4 separate regions of the Homo sapiens genome follow, and regions 1, 3 and 4 are each linked to region 2. The links are contacts of gene promoters, found by promoter capture Hi-C in blood cells and fetal thymus (Javierre and others, 2016). All regions are on one chromosome and are shown on one strand. Each heading gives the region's core, a stretch centred on a gene start or on the middle of the fragment in contact. The rest is flanking DNA. Distances are from core to core; before and after follow the strand shown. Region 1 holds the start of CDCA4 (cell division cycle associated 4). Region 2 holds the start of SETD3 (SET domain containing 3, actin N3(tau)-histidine methyltransferase). Region 3 overlaps SIVA1 (SIVA1 apoptosis inducing factor). Region 4 overlaps GPR132 (G protein-coupled receptor 132).

Region 1 (3,066 bases), core at 268-2,767, 5.5 Mb before region 2:
TTTATCAAGTCCCATTTTCTTTTACCTGGGCAGTAACCTAATGGGATTTTCTACTTCCAGCCTTCCTGCCACCTCCTCCAAATCTATTACCAACAGTGATTCTTGGTGGTTGTGGTGCCTCATGCCTGTAATCCCAGAACTTTGGGAGGCCAAGGTAGGAGGATCACTTAAGGCCAGGAGTTGGAGACCAGCCTGTGTAACAAGACAATACCCTGTCTCTACAAAATTACCAAAAAAAAAAAAAAAGTTAGCTTGGTGTAGTGGCACACTTCTGTAGTCCCAGCTACTTGGGAGGCTGAGGCGTGAGAATCACTCGAGCACAAGAGTTCGAGGATACAGTGAGCCATAATCACGCCACTGTTGTCCAGCCTGGGCGAAAGAGACCCCCTTTTTTTTTTTTTTAAATAAGAACAGTGATTCTTTTCAAGCACAATTCAGATTCCAGTTCCTTCTCTGCTGACCATGCCAGTAGTCTCCATCCCACTCCCAGAATAGCCCAAAAGTCCCTCCACCCCTCACACTTAAAACTTTCCCACGAGATCACAGGGTTCTTTCTCACTGCACTGAGACGTGCTCCTGCCTCCTGCCCCTGCCTCGGGCTTTGCCCCAGCCATTCCTCTCCTGAATTCTCGTCCACTCTTCCTTTTGGTGCTTTAAGACGCTCCTTATCCTAGAGACCTATGTGAGCAGCGCCCCCACGTCACTCCCAGGTTTCCCGACAGCATTTCAGCATTTACCACCGACCTTGGCGCATCCGCACCTGCGGATTGATCTGAGGATTCCCCCCCAACTTCCAGCACTTGGCTCTCAGCTGCAGCCACGCCTGCCGGGCCTGCTGCAGGCGCTCAGGGTATTACTTAAGTCAATGATTGCAGGTTCTCGCATCCTATTTAAAACCTTTTCCACTAAGAGATTTAAAACACGTGTCCCCTGCTTTGAACTTTCACGTTACATTTCTTACGTGTAAACCTAGGAAGCCTTTGGAGATAACCCCGGTCTCTGGAGAGGCTTGGATAGACCTCGGAGCCCAGACCGCCCGGGAATTGCCGTGCCCGGCTCCTCCCGACCCCGGCACGGATGCCTCGGCGGAGAAGTTGAGCCAGGCAGAAGCGAGAGAGTCCAAACCTCTGTTTGCCCCGCCACGCCCGCCCGAGGGCCCCACGTGGGCCCCAGGCGCAGGCGCGTTCAGTTCAGGGCCAGACGCGCGGAGACCTGGGAGCTGGCGGGGCGGGGCCGGACTGGGCGCGGGGAGACCTGGGAGCCGGCGGGGCGTGGGCGTGGCGGGGCCGGGCGCAGGGGCGGGGGCGGGGCAACCGAGGGCGCGCGCGAGCCCCAACGGCCGTCGCCGCAGCGCGGGAAGACGCGCCACAGATGCCCCGCCCGCGTGGGTTTGAACAAGAGGCCCCGCCCCCGGCCCGCGAGTGGCCAATCAGCGGGCGTAGCGCGCGGAGAGCGCAGCGTCGACCCTTTGTGGACGCCGAGTGGCGGTCGCTCGCCCCGCCCCGCGCCGTCGGGCGCTCCTTCCTCAGCGGCGGGAAGCTGGCGGCAGCGGCGGTGGCGGTGGCTGAGCAGAGGACCCGGCGGGCGGCCTCGCGGGTCAGGTGAGCGGGCCCGGCGGACCGCTAGGGCGTCTACGGCGGCGTGCACTTTTGTGCTGCAGGGCGCGGAGGAGCCTGGGGGCGGTGCGCGGAGTCTGTGGCTCCTGGCGCTGGGTCCGGGGCGGAGGCGGCGCCCGGGACCACCGCTGGGGCTGCCGCGGCGCCCTCGCCGCCCTCCTGGGCGCTGGTTCCCCCGCGGGGTGGCCGCTGCTGAGGGGGCCCGGGGAACAGAGGGGCCCGGGCCGCCGTCTGCGTTCCTTGCGGAGCGCGGAGCTGGGGCTTTGCCGAGGCCTGCGGGCGGCCCCACGCGGGAGCCGCTTCACGAGGGCCCGGCTGGGGTACGCAGCGGCGTTTCCCGTACCTCGGCTCTAGTTGCAGCGGAGGGAACGCCAGGCGCGCCGCAGCCCCCTCTGTCGGAGCCCGGCCGCGGAGAGGGCCGCGGATGTGGGAGGAGGCCCAGACCCCGGGCGGGTCGGCCAGCGCCGTCTTCCCTGGGCTCCTCCGGCGGTGCGAGGTGGGACTAGGGAAAGTCCCCGAGACACTTGCAGAAGTCAGACGCAAGCCTCCCTCCGCGTCTTCAGACGCTTCTCGCCCCGCAAACAGGATCGTCGTGGCAAAGGCTCCGACAGCTTGCTGGAATAGAGGGTCTCCGCTGCCTCGCTTCTCCTGTGGCCTTCGTGTGGGACGCACGGGACGGCGGGACCCAGATAACCGTTCTCTCAAAGCGAGCCACAGAAAAACATTGCCTGTTCACAAAACTTACGTTTTATCAACTTTCTACGTACAACCACTCTATTTTCAAGTGTCACCGTGTTTTATAATTAGGGTGGAAATCCAGAATACAAAGTGAGTTACACCCCTTTTCTAGGAAGAGTAGTAGGCTGTATCTTGGAAAAGGGGCTAGGAAGTTTCCCTCAACTTGCCACTGGAACATGTTTTCAGGGAAAAGAAGGAGTGTGTTTCGTTCCAAGTAACAAAAGTACCTGCAATTGGCTGGGCGCGGTAGCTCACACCTCCCAGCACTTTGAGAGGAGGCCTAGGCGGGTGGATCTCCTGAGGTCCCGAGTTCGAGACTAGCTGGCCAACGTGGTGAAACCCCGTCTGTACTAAAAATACAAAAATTAGCTGGGCGTGATGGCGCATGCCTGTAATCATAATCCTAGCTATGTGGGAGGCTGAGGCAGGAGAATCGCTTGAACCAGAAAGGCAGAGGTCTCAGCCGAGATCGTGCCATTGCACTCCAGCCTGGGCGACAGAGCGAGACTCCGTCTCAAAAAACAAAAAAAACCAAATACCTGAAATTAACATAACAGTAATTGTTCATGAACAGCCTCCAGGAGACTTGTAGTGGAAGGTGGAGCTCCCACTCAGTACTCAAGACTGCAGACCTTGCTCCTCTTCTCCCTGTTTTTCCGATAAAGTATTTCAAAGCTTATCTGATGTGTGAGGAATGGAAATTGTTGATGAT
Region 2 (2,831 bases), core at 237-2,736:
CAAACCTTTAGCGGGCACCTACAACTGCAAGGCATTGTGCTAGGTATCTGTAAACAGCGATTTAGATCGAGATACACAAACATCACCAAGTTTCTCTTAAAAACACAGAAGACCACCCTTAAGAAATGCTCTTAGAAATAGTTCCTAACCTCAGATGACTTAGCGAAAGCTCCGTTTAACTGGCAGTCTAAATTTAGGGAGCATTACCGAGCCTATCTTGGGCAGACAATCGTTTAGGAGCTGTCACATAACCTCTAGACTTACGCTCCAATTTTCTAAAGAACAATTTCTCTCATAACAAACCAAATCAACCACCAGGAGCGGGTCCGTAAAGACGATGTCTGGGCAAGAACGAAATCTAATCCCGGAAGTGCCTTTTCCTCATCTTAGCCGCACCCTCGTTACGTGGCTCTCCAAAACTCCAAAGTCGGAGTACCCTAGACATGGAACAACCTCCAAAAAGTTTCAGGCCTAGCCAAGGTTGGGACTAATACGCCGCGAAATAATCGGGGAGATATGAGAAGTCTGTGGCTGTGAGACTGTGCGCGGTTAACACCGCTGCCCCTTTTGCCCAACCCCTAGAAAGTTCCCCAACTCTGACTGCCCCCCAGTGCGAGGGCCGCTACCAGTTCTAGGGTGAGTCCGGCCTCCCTGCCCCGCCCCGGCGCCTCAGACCCTCTCTACACGCCCGCCCCACAACCCCGCGTCGCCCGCAAAGTTCAATGTGTACCGGAGGTTAGCGGAGGGAGGCAGAATCCGGAAAGAGAGACTCCGCCAGTGGATAGCGGCGGTTGGCCATAACCTACTCCGACCTCCAGATACGCGGGAGGTGGGCGGCGCTGCCCTCAGTCGGTGGGTCACTCACCCCTCGCTTCAGGCAAGCCCCTCAGCGACGTCTCTCCTTGCCGACTGCGGCCATCTTGTATATGGAATGTCGGGGACCTACGTCATCACGCTGCGTCCTGAGACGCCACCAAGCGACCGGAGGGGCGGAGAGAGTAGGATGCCTGTCAACCAATGGGAAGAAAGCAGAGCTCTCAAAAGAGGAACGAGCCGCCGCTCTCCTCCCCGCCCGCCCCGCGGGTCAGTGGCTGCTGCTTACAGAGGGAGGAGCCAGCCACAGGGCCCATCCCGTCGGTCCCGCCCCTCGGGGCGAAAAGGCATTCTGGAGCAACCGAACCTGCTAACGGAACTTGGGCGCGTAGGCGGGGCCCGGGTCGAGATTCGTCCAATCAAAGCTCTGGCGGGGGCGAACGCAGCCAGTTGCGACATCGTGGTTGGCGGCGGCTGAGCCGGCCGCTCTTGCCCCCGGGAGCTGCCAGCCCACTGGCTGGGGAGGACCCCGAACGGAACGCCGGCTGGGTGGCGGGGCGGGGCCGCGCCCATGCGTCCGAAGCGTGGGCCAATGAACGGCGGCGGCTGCGGCCCGGGGGCGGGGTCCGGGGCGGGAGGAGAAGCGTTGGGCCGCGGTCGCGGGGCCGTCTCAGGCTGCCGTCCCGCCCCTCCCGTCCGGCCGCCGCCGCCGCCACCGCCGCCACCGCCTGGGGGTTGGTTGAGGCGGACGGCGGGGTCCGGGCCGGAGTACGTCGTTCCCGCTGCGCTAGGGGAAGCGGGCAGGTGAGTGCTGGCGGCGGTCTCTGCGCCCGCGCGGCCCGCGGGGGAAACTCGCGCCGCGTCTCCGAGCTCTGCGAGGCCGTCCCTCGCCCTGGCCAGCGCCCCTCGGCCGAAGTCCGGCCCGCGCCCCCGCCAGGGTCCCCGCCGGCCGCTGTGGCCCCGGGGCTTGAAGGGGCAGGTGTGCGCTCGGGGGCCAGGGCGAGGAGGGCCCGGCGGGGTCGGAGGGCGCCGGTCGGCCTCTGCCCGGGCGCCCTGCGGGGCGAGAGGCGCGCGCTCGCCGCTGCCCTGTCCCCTCTGGCGCCCACGCTCCCGGGCCCCGCGCCACCCGGTCTCGAGGTGGTGCCAGGTGCAGGCAGCGCTCTCCCCGAGCTTGCCCCGCTGTCCCCGGCCCTCGCGCCTGCTCTCGGGTGGGGCCCGGGCCCCTCGCGCTAGTCGGCTCGGCTCTGCGCGCGGCCGGGTCGCGCTCCCATTTCCTTCCTTCCTCCCGTCACCCCGCTGCTCGGGGAAGGCTGTGCGGTTTTATGTTCCTCTCTGCGAGTTCTCGGTGCCCACCAGGGTGCCCGGGGACCAGCCCCCGCCTCCTCCCGCGCCGTCCAGTTAGGAAGACGGACGTAGGAAATAGGTCGTCTTTCTTCCCACGCGCCCCTGGCCGTGCTCCACACGCGCAGTGCCCTACTAGGGAGAGGCAATTCGGTGCTTTAGAGTTTGTCATTCCGGCGTTAACTCTTCCTCCTCGTGGCTCCAGCCCGGCGATGCAACTCTTGTCTTTTCCCGGTCTCCACTTGGGAAAAGGAGCTGACAGTGACGCGCGCCCCTGGCTGCGGGGCTCACCCCTGCCCGGCCGGTGTTGGGAGGAGGGCATTTCAGTGTTGCAAAGGCATTCGCGGGTTAGGACCACTCGGACCGTGTTATTTTGCTTTTCTAAATAAATAAGGTGATGTTTCAAAAGCAAAAATACTTTTAAAGTATGCTGACAAATCAATTTTGCTTTTAAGAATCCTCGAAGAGTTACCCCATCTTCGTAGCCTGATTGTGGTGCTGATGAGGCCACTATAAATGCGTTTGTCAGAACTCAGAACCGGACACTGAAAAGTGTGAATTTTATCTTATGTAAAATATACCTCTCCCTCTCCCGTTTTTCTTCTTGAAATGACCTTGCCAGTATTTCAAAACTGAACTAACCAGTAATAATCTCGGAGAAGTGTTTATTATTTTAA
Region 3 (2,960 bases), core at 433-2,932, 5.3 Mb before region 2:
ATTTATTTGTGAAAGAGGGCAGAGCCCACCTCCTGTGCTGTAGCTGCGATAAAAGAGTGTGTCCACAGTGGGGACAGTGGCCCACTCAGCTCAACGTGAACTCTGTGGGTATGGGAGGAAGCAGCAGCAGAAAGTAGGTAGAGGCCAGGAGGAAATGGGCGCAAGGGAGTCCCTCAAGGATGGTGTGCAGGGCAGGAGTGGGAGGCCAGCCACGCAGCGCTCTGGGACCCACCTCTCCGCTGAACCTGCCCATGGCTATGTTCACTTCTGCTTTGGTGAGAGGGCCACCAGACAATGAGAAAACCCTGCCCTTTTCAGTTTACTTCTAGGAAAGAAGATGAACTCAGCGGGTGAAAAGCAAAGACAGAGTATCCCACATTCATAGCTAGCCCTGCAGATGATTCCCAACCTGGATGGGGTGCGTTACCCCACTCCTGCCCATGCTGAAGCCATGGGAGCCGATCACTGGCACGCGGCGCTTCTCCCTGGTGCTGCCCCCCCTGCCCAGGGCTCTCCGTCTCCAATGAGTCTGGGCCTCTGCCCCGACTGAAGAAAGGCTCGAGAGAAAGGACTCGAGATGTAACATGTGGTTTCTATTTTAGATGGACAATTTCAGACATTGTTTGGACTAAGCTTGCTTTGGGTCTATGGAGCCAGTTCCACATGTGTCTGGATGAAGTCATCTTTCTCACGGGGCAGGGCAAACAGGCTCCACACTGTCCACTCCCATCCACCAGGTGAGTAGCCCCTAGGGTGAGAACGCCCCTCCCCACCTTAGGAGTAAGGACGGGATCCAGCCAGCTGCAGCAAACCCACCCACAAATGGGAGACTACACAAACACTCCACTTCCTGCCTGAGAGGGTCTACAACCAAACGGCACGCATGACTGTGGTGAAGCTGCGGTGTGCACCTGTGTCACCAACCAGGGGCTCCTCGGACGGGGGGAGGGGGGGCTCAAAGACCAGAGGAGGAGGAGGTGGGGGTGCTCAAAGATCAGAACAGGAAGTGGCTGAAGACAGGGACTAGAGCCGGATACAGAGCAGGTCATCTGTGAGGTTCAGCTTTCCCTTAGAGAGGATTACTAACCACTAAAGTTGGGCCAAGCATCTATTGCCACCATGTCCCGTTAGGCAATGCCAGATGGCACTGCATCAGGGGCCACACGTGTGTGTTCTGGGCCCACATGGGTGACCCACCCGTCCCCCATCACGGCTTGCTGGGGCTATGGGATCTCAGCAGCTCCAGGGACTGAAGTACTTACTCCACGAGGCCACACAGGGTACAGGCCACGGAGCCGCAGCCCCAGCAGGTGCGCACACACTGCCCGCACAGGGCTCGCTCACACTGACCGCAGACCGCCTTCCCATCCACGGCTCGCACGCATGAGGAACAGGCAATGGACGCTACCCCAGATGGGTCTGTGAGGAAGAAACGCCAAGCCGTCAGGCTGCAAGGAGACTGGAGTTTCCGGGACTGCCGGGCTACCTGCCTCCATGCATACCTGAGGGCAGAGGGCTCTGACCTGCCTACCCCATCCCCACCTACACTGGATCCTTCTGACAACCCGTGAGCCTGGTACAGTGCACAGGACCCCCGTTTTACTACAGAGATCCAAGGTGAGATATGCCTGTAGTTGACTCCAAGTTCAGTGCTCTTTCCCTTACCAGGTCCCTCTGCTACCTGGAGGCTAGTGCTGGAAGGACCATTCTTCCCCTGTTGCTTGTCAGAACTCCATGTGTCCCATCTGGGTCTCAGTGTGGCCCACTGCCTTACTGGTTAACAAAGAGGTGCCTGGGCTCCTCCTAGACACACCAACCAGACTTGAGGTAGAGTCGGGGATTGCATTTCTAACCAGCAACACAGGTGATGCTCTGAGACCCCACACTGCATAGGGATGGGACTGGCATGTTTCCAGCCTTGTGGGACTATCTGAGGGGGCTGCAGGCGGAAAGCAGACGGGATACCCGGGGAGTCTCTGCTGCTTTTTTGGCCCAGTACTTAGAAGCTGTTTAACAACTTCCAGTCTTGAATGTGAGACCTCCTGATAACAGGAGCCTTCTGAGCCAGAAGGCCAAGCTCTGGGTCAGAGTCCTGCTTACCCAGGGAGGAAAAGCCTGACCTTGCAAATCAAGAAAAATGCTCGTGCCACCACCTGCCCTCAGTGCCACAGCCACAAAGGGCTGCTGGTGCCACTCACCAGCTTCGGAGGCCTGCCCAAGGCTCCTGATCAGGCGGCCGTCTGGTCCAATCAGCATCTGCCCACGTGCAGCCCTCGGGGCCCCTGTAGGGCCAGGCTTTGGGGACTCTGGCAGGTGAACGACGGCACAGCCTTCATCCCACACGTGGTCCAGGTAGGCCTGGGCCCCGAGGAACAGGAGTCGCTTGGTCTTCTCTGGGGGAAGATAAATCATTCTCACGTCCTTCACTGTGTACCAACGAAGCCCCTGCATGGCCATTGAGTCTTTCTAGCCTCACATGAACCCCATCGTCCTCCTGTGTGCCCTCTGTCTCCCAGTAACCCCAGCCTGTGTTGTGCCCTGGCGAGCTGGGTCCTGCTCTGCCTCTATGCTGAGAATGCTTGTGCGTCCTTTCCTTACCTGGCTTAGCTGTCATCTCCTCCAGGAAGGCTCTGGCCCTGCAGCCCCACCTGTGTCTGATGCAAGGGTTCCCTCTCCTATCACTCGGCTCATTTTCTGCAATTCACGGCTGGCCTCGCCTCACTAAGCTTGTCCCCTTTCTCCCTTTTCTGCTTCCCCAGCACTCCCCACCTGGAAACCAGGCTCTGTGGAATGCACAGAGGGAGCTCTGCACTGTGGAGCACTAATTCACAAAACTCGTCCCCTGCCAAGGAAGCAGCCAGAGGCTTGGAGCTGGGCCTACAGCCTCTGGCCAGAGCACACCCCCTTCACCTGCTACAGAGTTGCTGGCAAGACAAGCATCCCAGAACCTTCCAGACCTC
Region 4 (3,017 bases), core at 267-2,766, 5.6 Mb before region 2:
CTCCAGCCAGTGGCAGGGTGGTGGCAGAATGGGTAGCCCAGGAACCCCTCCGGCCCACACCACCCACCGCCAAGGGGGCATCACTTTGGAGATGGCTTTTCTTGTTTCTTTCTTGACTCAGTGTCTCACTTTTTCATGTGTTTTCAAGGTATTGCTTTAAAATTCTCCATAAGTTAACAAGCTTCCTGTAATCTCAGGAGAACATTGTGGCTTCCTGTTTTTCCAGTTGTTAAAAAACGTCGAGACAAGTCTCAATCATTTTAGGAGGTTTATTTGCTAAAGTTGAGGACACGCGTCTGTGACACAGCCTCAGGAAGTCCTGATGACGTGCCCAGGGTGGTCGGGCGCAGCCTGGTTTCATGCATTTTAGGGAGACAAGAGACATCAATCAATATATGTGAGACGTACATTGGTTCCGTCCAGAAAGGTGGGGACAACTCGAAGCAGGGAGGGGGCTTCCCAACCATTTGTCTCTCGCCTACACAGGTAGGCGAGAGACAAATGGTTGCATTGTTTTCAGTTTCTGATAAGTCTCTCCAAAGGAGGCATCAGAATATGCATCTGTCTCAGTGAGCAGAGGGATGACTGAATAGAACGCCAGGCAGATCGGCGCTGAGCAGTTCCCAGCTTGAAGGGGCCCAAGATACTTTCCTTTCACAGAAATATACTTGAAAGGGCAGCTGGGGATGTCAACACACAGGCAGCCCCACCTGCTGGCCCAGAGCCCTTGGTGTGGGTGTCCCTGGGTTCTGCCTCACTTTTGAGCAGCTTCCAGAGAATTCCTGCAAGAGCCACGTGGGATGGGCGGGAAGAGCAAGTGGCTCCAGGGAGTGCCCCTGGCCAGCCTCTCAACATACAGGCCTCGGGCCCAAAGGGGCCTTGCTGTGTAGGGGCTCTGCCCGCAGCCGGGCCGGCCCTGCCCTGGGAGGGGAGTGTGCACTGGGAGACTGACTGCACCTGCTGGCTTCCCATGAGGGTCTCGGCTGATAGAGGGCAGCACCAGGCAGCATGGGGTGGGGGTTGGGCCTGGCACCAGGGAGGCAGGATTGGAGCTAGTGAGGCAGCCGCCAGGCTCAGCCTCTATCCCTGCACTGCAGGGCCCGGAAACAGCAGAGCGAGACCCTCAGGCTTTGCAGGGCTGTGGGAGAGGCACAAACACCATCTGAGGATGGGTTTAGGGCGCTCTCCTCCCTGCAAACCCTCTTTGGCTGGTCAGGGTGGTGCCTGTTTTAGAGGCACCTCAGGTTAGGGAAGGAAGCAGAGGGACAGGCCCCTGGGCGCCTTGCGCCACCCCCCTGCATGCCCTGAGCCATCTGCTGCCCGCCCATCATGCCTCCCTCCTCCGGGCCCCTCATGCTGTGGGTGACACAGCTTCCAGGCCATGTGCACGTCACACCTCGGGTAGCCAGGAAAAATTCCTAGAAGGGGATCAGCCAGGTCAAAAGTAGAGCACATTTGAGATTTTTGGAAACATATTGCAAAATTTTGCTGCGAGCCAATTCATACTTCCGTCAGTCCCGTGTACGGGCACCCATTGCCTACTCTCAAACACTATGAGTTTAAAAGGTCTTTATTTTTGCCAACATGATAGGCCAAAAAAAGATTTTAAAAGACTGTCTTTCAGATATTCATGTTTGCATTTCTTTGATTAGAAGTGGAGTTGAACATTTTTCAGATTTTAGGAGCTTTTCTTTTTTCTTGAGACGGGGTCTCTCTCTGTAGCCAGGCCGGAGTGCAGCAGCTCAGTCACAGCTCACTGCAACCCCTACCTCCTGGGCTCAAGCGATCCTCCCAACTCAGCCTCCTGGGTAGCTGGGACTACACGTGTGCACCATCATGCCTGTTTATATTTTTGTAGGTGTGGGGTGTTACTATATTGCCCAGGCTGGTCTTGAACTCCTGGACTCCAGCTATCCTCCCACCTCAGCTTCTCAAAGGGCTGGGATTTACAGCCATGAGTTACCACACCTGGCCTTTAGGAGCTATTTTTATGTTTTCTGTGAAAGCTCATCAACTTTCTTTTCTCTCCCAGCTTTATAAAGGTATAATTGACAAACAAGAAGAGTACCTAGGCCAGGTGCGGTGGCTTACGCCTGTAATCCCAGCACTTTGGGAGGCCGAGGTGGGTGGATCATTTGAGGTCAGGAGTTTGAGACCAGCCTGCCCAACATGGTGAGACCCCGTCTCTACTAAAAATACAAAATCTAGCTGGGGATGGTGGCGCGTGTGTGTAGTCCCAGCTACTTGGGAGGCTAAGACAGGAGAATCGCTTGAACCCAGGAGGCGGAGGTTGCAGTGAGCCGAGATCATGCCATTGCACTCCAGCCTGGGCAACAGAGTGCGACTCTGTCTCAAAAAAAAAAAAAAAAAAATTAGCTGGGGGTGGTGGCAGGCGACTGTACTCCCAGCTACTCAAGAGGCTGCTGCAGGAGAATAGTTTGAACCCGGGAGGCAGAGGTTGCAGTGAGCCGAGATTGTGCTACTGCACTCCAGCCTGGGCGACAGAGCAAGACTCCATCTCAAGAAAAAAAAAAAAAAAAAAAAAAAAGAATCGTATGTAGTCGCAGTGGCTAATGTGACGTTTTGATGCCTGTTGGCTTGGAGCCTTGCTTGTGTTTCTCATGTGGGATGCAACGGCAGATTCTCAACATTTAAAAAACACCTACGAATCAACGGGCCACTTAGTAAATTAGTAAATACTCACTAGCCGTTTGTCAATGGGTTAACTTGTGACTCAATCTGATTTCCCTAAAACAATTTCAACCTACTCTTTTTCCAGGTCATTTTAAACTCTCAGAGTGAACGTCTTGATAGGACCGACAAGACGCATGACATGTACTTAGAAAGCTTATCTTAGAGCCACACTGAGATTGGAACCCGCAAAATATGCCAGGTGAGAGAGCCTTCTCCGACTTTGAACATGTAAGAGGAAGCCCATGAGAATTTTTCCATGAAGCATGTTGTCTCATAATTCAAAAATTAACGCATAAAAATAGATTATCGAGATAAAAACTAGC

Evidence for each region. The method cuts DNA at HindIII sites, captures the fragments that hold promoters and counts their contacts. A CHiCAGO score of 5 or more calls a contact.
Region 1: a contact is called between the fragment with the promoter of CDCA4 here and the fragment with the promoter of SETD3 in region 2, in 1 of 17 cell types (neutrophils). The highest score is 5.7, in neutrophils.
Region 3: a fragment that was not itself captured here is called in contact with the fragment with the promoter of SETD3 in region 2 in 1 of 17 cell types (neutrophils); the score reaches 5.6 in neutrophils.
Region 4: a fragment that was not itself captured here is called in contact with the fragment with the promoter of SETD3 in region 2 in 1 of 17 cell types (neutrophils); the score reaches 14.3 in neutrophils.

What each region holds. Positions count from the first base shown.
Region 1 is chr14:105,019,534-105,022,599 of GRCh38, reverse strand. It overlaps CDCA4 (cell division cycle associated 4), which reads left to right and starts at 1,517. Exons shown (of 2, transcript NM_017955.4): 1 at 1,517-1,601. RefSeq lists enhancers at 722-781, 797-1,310, 1,825-2,340, 2,792-3,066 and silencers at 1,082-1,151, 1,182-2,071, 2,082-2,171. The HindIII fragment of the contact is 6,687 bases long and covers 1-3,031 here.
Region 2 is chr14:99,479,514-99,482,344 of GRCh38, reverse strand. It overlaps SETD3 (SET domain containing 3, actin N3(tau)-histidine methyltransferase), which reads left to right and starts at 1,486. Exons shown (of 13, transcript NM_032233.3): 1 at 1,486-1,617. CCNK (cyclin K) reads right to left here and starts at 936. Exons shown (of 11, transcript NM_001099402.2): 1 at 866-936. RefSeq lists enhancers at 676-1,045, 1,854-2,355 and silencers at 1,236-1,695, 1,806-2,005. The HindIII fragment of the contact is 7,554 bases long and covers 1-2,831 here.
Region 3 is chr14:104,755,063-104,758,022 of GRCh38, reverse strand. It overlaps SIVA1 (SIVA1 apoptosis inducing factor), which reads right to left. Exons shown (of 4, transcript NM_006427.4): 2 at 2,199-2,393; 3 at 1,263-1,419. LOC107987209 (a long non-coding RNA gene) reads left to right here. Exons shown (of 3, transcript XR_001750915.3): 2 at 603-1,617. Among named protein-coding and RNA genes, the nearest start is that of SIVA1, 3.4 kb to the right of the region's middle. The HindIII fragment of the contact is 2,093 bases long and covers 636-2,728 here.
Region 4 is chr14:105,057,043-105,060,059 of GRCh38, reverse strand. GPR132 (G protein-coupled receptor 132) reads left to right here. Exons shown (of 4, transcript NM_013345.4): 2 at 2,780-2,893. Among named protein-coding and RNA genes, the nearest start is that of GPR132, 6.9 kb to the left of the region's middle. The HindIII fragment of the contact is 2,666 bases long and covers 184-2,849 here.